Regions from separate parts of the Homo sapiens genome. Here all the other regions are linked to region 2. The links are contacts of gene promoters, found by promoter capture Hi-C in blood cells and fetal thymus (Javierre and others, 2016). All regions are on one chromosome and are shown on one strand. The core of a region is centred on a gene start or on the middle of the fragment in contact, and the rest is flanking DNA. Distances in the headings are between cores, read along the strand shown.

Region 1 (2,700 bases), core at 61-2,560, 500 kb before region 2:
GGCTAGCTGACCAGGGGTGTGGGAAGCCCAACTCTACAAATTCGCAGCAGATCAGCCCCCAACCCCCACAAATTCCCAGCAGATCAGGAAGGGCGGGGCATGGATGAAAGGGCATCAGGGCCACAGGCCCAGGACAGGCACGTGGGTTGCTCTTGGAGGCATTTGCAGGTACACTAAGAAGCTCCAGGAAGGACACACACACACACATATACACACACATACACATACATATGCACACACATACATACACAGACACACACACACACGTACACAGACACACAGACACACATACACACACACATTCCCCTGCCCTCCCATCTCCAGACCTTGCGGTCCCCATGAGCTTCCCGATTCCTGGCACTGCCGGGCTGTCCTGAAGGCTCTTTTGGCCAGAAATGGGCAGGGATCTGAGAGCACCTGCTGTCGGGTGAGTCCTACTGTACTCATGTCAGAGATTAGGACGAGAAGACACAGGAGTGAGCTGGGCTGGAGTCTCAGCTGCAGATGACAAGGAGAGCACAGTGGAAAGCCTGGCCCACCTCCCCTCCCCACTGGGCCCCTGGGTGGGATACCACCATTTCCAGAATGGGCTGTGGGTTGCGCGGGCTCCTGAGGTTCGCTGAACCGGGGCTCTGAGGGGTCCCCAAAGTGCTTCCTCCCTGTCCTGTGCCCCCACCCCATGGGGTGGAAGAGCCGCCCACAGGCCTGGGTTCCGCCATGCACAAGGGAACTGGACCTTGGTGACTATTCAGGAGGGAGTCTCCGGGCTGCCCTTCCCATGACCACATGTCAATCCCCTTTGGCCCCAAGGGAATTTCTCATAACCCTCCCTTGGAGGAGCCCCCTCGGTGCCAGCCCACCCTCATCACTCTCTCCTGAACCCCCATGAACAGACTCCGTGGCGCCTCCACCTGCCTTTGTCCCGCCAACCCTCCCTGTCCAGAGCAGCCATGGGGCCTCTTACAGTTTTAAGTCTGTCTGCATCACGCGTTTCCTCAGAGTCTCCTCAGGCTGGGTGAGTCCTCGTCCTAATAGGCCCTGACTGCCTGGCGCTGCCTACCTCTCCTGCCTCAGCAGGAGCTGCCCACACCTGTCCTCAGCCAACCAAGCTCCTAACCGTCGGGGATCCTGGGACTCGGGCCTGCCTTTGCTGGACACTTCCGTCAGATTTCTACCTGGCCACGTTCCACTCTTTCTTAAGGATTCTGCTTAAAAGTCACGTCCTCTAAGGCTCCTCGCTGGCCTTCCCCACCACATTGATGTCCAGGTAAGGAGCTCGGGGGTTTAAGGAGCAGATGGAGCTGTGGGGCTGGGCACAGATGTTGAGGCAGGGGTGGGGGCAGGAGCCAGGGAGTGTCAGGCTTTGACCCAGAAAGGAAGGGAGCCATTGGAGGGAGCGTGTGGCCTGGTGACTGTGGTCGGGAGACGTCTCTTCCTTAGGCGATAGTTGCTGTGGGCATGTGAGGAGTGGCTGGGAGCTGCTGCATGGCCGGGCTGTGTATGCCCTGCATGGCCACAAGGGGGGCAGGTGCTCCTGCAGTGGAGCTGCTTGCAGTTCCTGTCCCTGCCGTGTCACATGGGCCTCTGCAGAGTGTGAGAGGGTCCCTTGCAACTCTGTGTGATTTTGTAGTGTCTTCCCCAGGAACACCCTCCCAGTCACATAAACCTCAGGCCCACAAGGCCTGGGCGCCTCTCCTGCTTCCCTATGCCATGTGCCCCGGGGACGAGGGCCCCACCTGCCAGCTTGTGGACTTCAATTCCCATCAGTGCTCACCCTACTGCAGCCCATTCTCACTGCAAATGCTCTTTGTTTTATTTATTTATTTATTTATTTATTTATTTATTTATTTATTTATTTTTGATAATTGGGAAAACTTTTAACTGTGATTCATTACATTAATACCCAATAGATGCATCTGGCAAAATAATTAAATGATAAAAATCACAATAATTTTAATTTTAAAATCAAAATAATTTAAATCAGCTTAGTAAAACCTTTCTCACCTTCCACCTATGCATTTCATCAGTGAGAAAAATCTTGATCTAGTGAAGTTGGGGCAGGGGCAATGTATAAGCCCTCTTACCTCCCCAGGACACAGCATAAGTCTGGAATAGACAGTTCAGGAAGCAGTCTCTTAAACTGCATCGTGATGATGAAGTCCTATATTAAGTAAGATCCCAAAGATGGTTAATAGCAGGCAGGCTAAGAGCTGTAACCTCTAGTCTTTTCCTTATGAAATATTGCTTCCAGTTTAATTGATTTTATTTAGATGGGTTTACACTTAAACACAGATATTCAGGCAGCACTTGTATTTCCCTAGGGACTCTGTTTATAAACATTCAGAGATAGTTATGGATAAAGTTAGAATATCTTTCCCTCTTTTGCTTAATATTTATTAAGGACTTACTATGTGTTATATTCTGTGCTATGTGTTTTACATAAAATACATCATCACAATGACCTTCTTTTGCAGATGAAGAAACAAAAGTTCTGAGAGGTCTTCAGGAACTTGTATATAATTACAGAGGTAATAAGGATTGGTTGGAAATGAAACCAAGGGCTACCTCCTGTCCCCAAAGCTCATGCTCTTAACCCCTTCACCATGAGTTTCTGGTTCTATTCCTAGACTCTAGGCATCATATACTCCTGTTAATACTTTCTGTCTTCAAGCAAGTCCATTTACATTTATATTATAAAAG
Region 2 (2,700 bases), core at 41-2,540:
AATCAGGAGTTCGAGACCAGCCTGGCCAACATAGTGAAACCCTGTCTCTACTAAAAATACAAAAAAAAAAAAAGCTGGGTGTAGTGGTGCACACCTGTGATCCCAGCTACTCAGGTGGCTGAGGCAGGAGAATTGCTTGAACCCGGGAGGCAGAGGTTGCGGCCACTGCACTCCAGCCTGGGCAACAGAGCAAGACTCCATCTCAAAAAGAAAAAAAGGAAGAAAGGAAGAAAGAGAGAAAGAGAGAAAGAAAGAGGCAGAAGGCATTCAAATGAAGATCATATTTCCTTAATCACAATGTTTCATATGACCCAGCTCAAGGGGCCCAGAACCACTTCTCCATCCACCGCTCAGCCGGTGAGGGGTAGCAGAGCTGCCCAGGGTCACAGTGTGTGGTGAGGCAGTGAGGTCGGGGACCAGGAGCCCAACAAGGGCCATTCGCTGATGCCTCAGAGATGAACAAGTGGGCTGTTCCTGAGATACCTGCACTAGGCAGGGGGAGAGCGGTGCTCAGAGTGAGAAGGAAACACTCTTACCTGGATGGTCCTGCGATCTGGAGTAGACGCCACGCACCTGCGCACAAAAGACCACAGTGTGAGACACACTCAGGGAAAGCCTCCGGAGAAACCAAGCCTGTCGCCATCCTGGCCACTTGGGGACATTACCTGAAAGTTGTAATAAAATAGCAGCAGCCAGGAGTACCAGCAGCACAGCCGCAGCAGCTTTTCCATGGCTCTCTCGGAGGTCAAAGCTCGGAGCCAAGTGAAATTCCTGAGGGTCTGTGAGAACGGGACCTCTTAACCTTCACTTCCTTGGAAAAGGGACATTTTCACAGGTTCCAGGGGAGAAAATTTCTGTCTCCTTAAAGTTTGTGAAACACAGCTGTCTTGGAGACCTAATGGGTGTTTCTTCCTCGTCTCAAAACTTGAGATTCTTCAGTGATCAATAAACACGTTGCGATGACCAGAGCAGCTGTGGAATGCAGGGAGGAGAAACCCAAACCCGACTCGCAGTCCTGGGAAAGCAATCCCAGGTCACCACTGTGACCGCGACCTGCGCCCGGGGACGGGAGGCTGTTTGTCCTGCGGTATTTTCTTTTTATTTCAAGAGCCTCCGTTTGTCTCAGTCAGGTTTGGAGCTTCCCTTTTCTCTGAAGAAGGTTTTGTGCGTGGTTTTCCCCTGGAGCGCCCGCCTGCTCCTCGGGCTTGTCCTGCGGCCGCTCTCGAGCTCCTTCTGGTCTGGCTCAAGTTCACACCTCCGTCCTGCTCTCTGGGTGGAGGGGGAGTGAGTGATGTAAGTCTCTCTCCTCAAACTTTGTTCTGTTCTCCTTTTCTATTTATATCCCCACTGCTGTGTCCTTCCTGGGTCCTAACTCCAGCCTCTTAACAACAGCTGAAATATTTCCAGGATCTCAGGCTCAGAATCAAACCAAACAGACATGGTGTGTGGTGTGTGTGCGTGTGCGTGTGTGTGTTACTGATGCCTTCTGGTCAGCACCTTCAAAGTCGGCATAAATATTAATAAATACAAAATGCAAAACAAACCATAAACTCTGTTTAGATCTGAGTCTTGTTTGCCCCCAAAAGAGAATGAAGTTGACAGAGGGATGGAAAAGAGAAAGCAGCACACCCACTGTGCCCTCCATATTAAGCGCTGACCACATTTTTCTCTCTAATCCTTTCGGACGTCAGTGAAAGCTACGGAATTAATTACAAGGTACGCTGCGCAATTACACCATCCCACATATACCCCCACCCCAGCACCAGGAGGATGTTCTCAATGGGATAGAAAAGAGTCAGCCCCTTCGCCAGACATGCCTCAGTTTACCCAAGACCAAAGTTTATCCGATCTACTCCAAATACACGTGGACACACAGAGACACACACCCTAGAATTGCAGTCACAGCTATATTTGCTATGTGATTTAAGTAATATTTACCGCTTCATACTTTCTCCAACATTCACCAGCTGTGCTCCTAGGCAAATTACTTGATCTCTCTTAGTTTTCGAATTCCTCATCCACAAAATGGGGGTTAATAGTTCCTCCTCCTCAGGGCTGTAACAATAAATTAGAGGACAGATCCAAGGCTCTTCAGGCAGTACTTGGAAAATATGTGGCACTCAGTAAATGCTGCTATTTTCTATTAAGAAAAATTATCACTCAGTAAATGTTAGCTATGATTATTATTAGCAAGTATAACATAACACCCAGTAAATGTTAGCTGATACAGTTATCTCAATTGTCCTGACTTTAAATGGGAATTAAGAATCCTGAATCCAACATACTTCCTAAAGAGGATAAGAAAATGACTTCCAATCTCTGTGGGACAGAAAAAAAGAAAGTGCTGTCAAAACGTTAGGTGATTATTTTTAACTTGTGCCTGCAGCCTACAACCGCTCAGATCCTCTGATAGCCTGAGCCTCTCTGTGGAGCTGGAGAAGGGTTCCAGAGAGTTCCATCTCCTAGCAATGGAGAAACTGTGAACTCCAAAGGCCGGGGGCTGTCTGTAATAACGACCTTTATCCTGTTGCTCAGGCTGGTCGGCTTCAGGGAAAACTAATTTACAACCTTTATCTCTGCCATTTCATCAGCTCTCCAGTCCCCCACTGCCTCTCGCTGGAAGAGGTGAAGGGAGGGACAGGCAGCTGCAGGTTTTTCTCAGCTCCAGTTTTAACCTGGAAGAATTCAACAGATTGCTGA
Region 3 (2,700 bases), core at 55-2,554, 460 kb before region 2:
GTGCATTACAGCATTGTAAACTATAGGCACAGTGTTGTACAACAGATCCCCAGAACTTACTCATCTTGGAGAACTGAAACTCATACCAGCTGAACGGCAACTCCCCACATCCCCTTCCCCAGTCCCAGGCCACCCCCATTCTACGGTGTTTCTATGAGTTTGACTATTTTAGAGGCCTCCTACAAATGGAATCGAAGGCAAAAGACCTGAATACACATTTCTCCAAAGAAGACATACAAATGACCAACAGGTGTATGAAAAAGATGCTCAACATCATGAATCAGGGGGGAAATGCAAATCCAAACCACACCTGTTGGGAGACCATTATCAAAAATACAAGAGGTAAGTGCTGGTGAGGAGATGGAGAAGTTGGAACCACCGTATACCCCAGAAAGGAATGTAAAATGATGTAGTTGCTATGGAAAACAATATGGAAGCTTCTCAAAAAATTAAAACTAGCACAGCTGTATGATTCAGCCATCCCACTTCTGGGCAGTTATCCAGATGAACTGAGCTTAGGATCTGGAAGAGATATCGGCAATCCTCGTTGCAGCACTGTCACAGCAGCAAAGATATGCGAACAACCTAAATTCCCACCGACAGCTGAATGGATGAGGACAATGTGAAGGTACACACACAATGGAACACGAGCCAGCCAACCAACAGGGAAATCCTACCATTCGCAATAACACGGATGAACCTGGAGGGCATCATTCTAAGTAAAAGAAGCCAGAAACAGAAGAACTCACTGGGTCTTGAGCTCAGAAGTTGTTCAGCAAACTCTTCTCTGCAGAAGCAAGTTTGAGAGGGGAATGCAGGGAGCTCCTTACCTAGGAGATACTGACATGGCTGTGGGCAGTGATGTGGGAGAGGCTTGCCCACCCAGCCTCAAAGTGAGGTCCAAGCCTCGGGTGGACATAGAGGCTGTTGGGTTACACCATGGAGAGGTGCAGACAGAGACCCCCTACAGGCTGCCGTGTCCACTCCAGGGCGAGCCCTAGACACACCCTCCAGGCTCTTGATGACCATTCTTGGACCTTGGCCCAGTAGGACCATGGCAGGCCCAAGCTGGTCAAGGCCCTGTGGCCAACCTCCCATACATTTCCAAAGGGCTGTGGGGCCTTCACAGTCTTGGCCACACAGGCCATGCCCTCAGAGAACATCTATTTCTCCTACACCCTGCACAGATGGGGCAGTCAGGAGAAGCCACCTGAAGTATTGGCTGAGAGCACCACTTGGGGGGACCAATGGCTTGTTCCATGGGGACATATTATGAAAGTAACAAATCCTGAACAGAGGCTAGGCTCTTCTGCTTGACAAGAGGCAGTGACAGGATCTCCCTGTGCAGTAAGGTCAGAGGGCTCTGGAGCTGGACTGCCCTGTCCACACCCTGCCCACTTGCCAGCTATGTGCTGGTACTCAGGACCTGAGCCTCAGTTTCCACAGCTGTAGAATGGGGAGGCAAACATGGCCTCACCCATAGGCCTGCCATGAGTATCAGTGAGATCATTCACACATGTTAGCACAGTGCCTGGTGAAGGGTGTGCTCTATAAATGGCCAGTGTCATTACCTGATACTTTCACTGTGCAAGGAAAAAAGAAAGAGAGAAGGCGGATGTATTAGTTTGTTCTCATACTGCTATAAGAAATGCCTGAGACTGGGTAATTTACAAAGGAGAGAGGTTTAATTGACTCACAGTTCCGTATGACTGGGGAGGCCTCAGGAGACTTACAGTCATGGCAGAAGGTGAGGAGGAGGCAGGCACCTTCTTCACAAGGTGGCAGGTGAGAGAATGAATGAAGGCGGAACTTGCAAACTTATAAAACCATCAAATCTCATGAGAACTCACTCACTATCACAAGGACAGCATGAGGGAAACTGCCCCCATGATCCAATCACTTCCCACTGTGTCCCTCCAATGACAGCTGGGGATTGTGGGGATTACAATTCAAGATGAGATTTGGGTGGGGACACAGCCTAACCACACCAGTGGAAAAGAGGAGGTGGAGGATGCATTTCTGTGAGTTGAATATACTTGAACTTCAGACAGCAGAGCCAGGCTTCATAGAGCATCCTTGGACCACCATGCCTGGGACCTTCCCCCCTCTACTGAGGCCCAAACAAACCTGCTTCTGGAACTGGCCCAATTTCCCCATAGAAACAAAGCTTGAGAAGATTATTATCTGAGTTCATGTCTCAGGAAACCAACCGTCAGGACTTCCAGATAGTATCAAGGAACTGAACTTTCCCAGATCACTGCATCCAACCAATGAGACTTGCTGTTTGTTGGCCAACTCCTCTTCCTTACTCCTAACTAGTGGGTTAGAGAGATTCATTTGGGACTGGTCTGCATTCAAGCCTTTCTTCTCTGGCAGTACTTGTCTCAGTGATTGGCTTTCTATGTGATGAGTAACTGGACCTAACCAAACCCCTGGTGCTTGGCAACACATCCCTGAGGATGCAGGAATCTGGGCTGAGGAACAAGGGGAAGGGAGTCCACGGCTCCAGCGTGGGAACAGGTGCATCTGTCAGGAGGGTTCAGCTGTGGGAACAGGGACACCCACATAAGAGTGGCTTCAATAAAATGGGGATTCTCCTGTTATAGACACTCCAAGAATAAGCTGTCCAGGGTCCTGTGGTGACCCCAGGGTGTCAAGGTCTCAATTTTTCTCCACCAGCCCTTGATGCCTCTTTACCCT

What was found. The method cuts DNA at HindIII sites, captures the fragments that hold promoters and counts their contacts. A CHiCAGO score of 5 or more calls a contact.
Region 1: a contact is called between a fragment that was not itself captured here and the fragment with the promoter of ADGRD1 in region 2, in 3 of 17 cell types (M1 macrophages, M0 macrophages and M2 macrophages). The highest score is 6.5, in M1 macrophages.
Region 3: a contact is called between a fragment that was not itself captured here and the fragment with the promoter of ADGRD1 in region 2, in 1 of 17 cell types (M1 macrophages). The highest score is 5.4, in M1 macrophages.

Annotation. Positions count from the first base shown.
Region 1 is chr12:131,453,713-131,456,412 of GRCh38, reverse strand. It overlaps a transcript of LOC101929974 not described here. Among named protein-coding and RNA genes, the nearest start is that of LINC02370, 110 kb to the right of the region's middle. RefSeq lists a silencer at 1,610-1,659 and an enhancer at 1,236-1,741. The HindIII fragment of the contact is 6,581 bases long and covers 1-2,700 here.
Region 2 is chr12:130,952,497-130,955,196 of GRCh38, reverse strand. ADGRD1 (adhesion G protein-coupled receptor D1) reads right to left here and starts at 1,290. Exons shown (of 25, transcript NM_198827.5): 1 at 666-1,290; 2 at 537-573. The coding sequence starts at 731. The HindIII fragment of the contact is 10,485 bases long and covers 1-2,700 here.
Region 3 is chr12:131,416,121-131,418,820 of GRCh38, reverse strand. No RefSeq gene overlaps it. Among named protein-coding and RNA genes, the nearest start is that of LINC02370, 70 kb to the right of the region's middle. The HindIII fragment of the contact is 1,730 bases long and covers 440-2,169 here.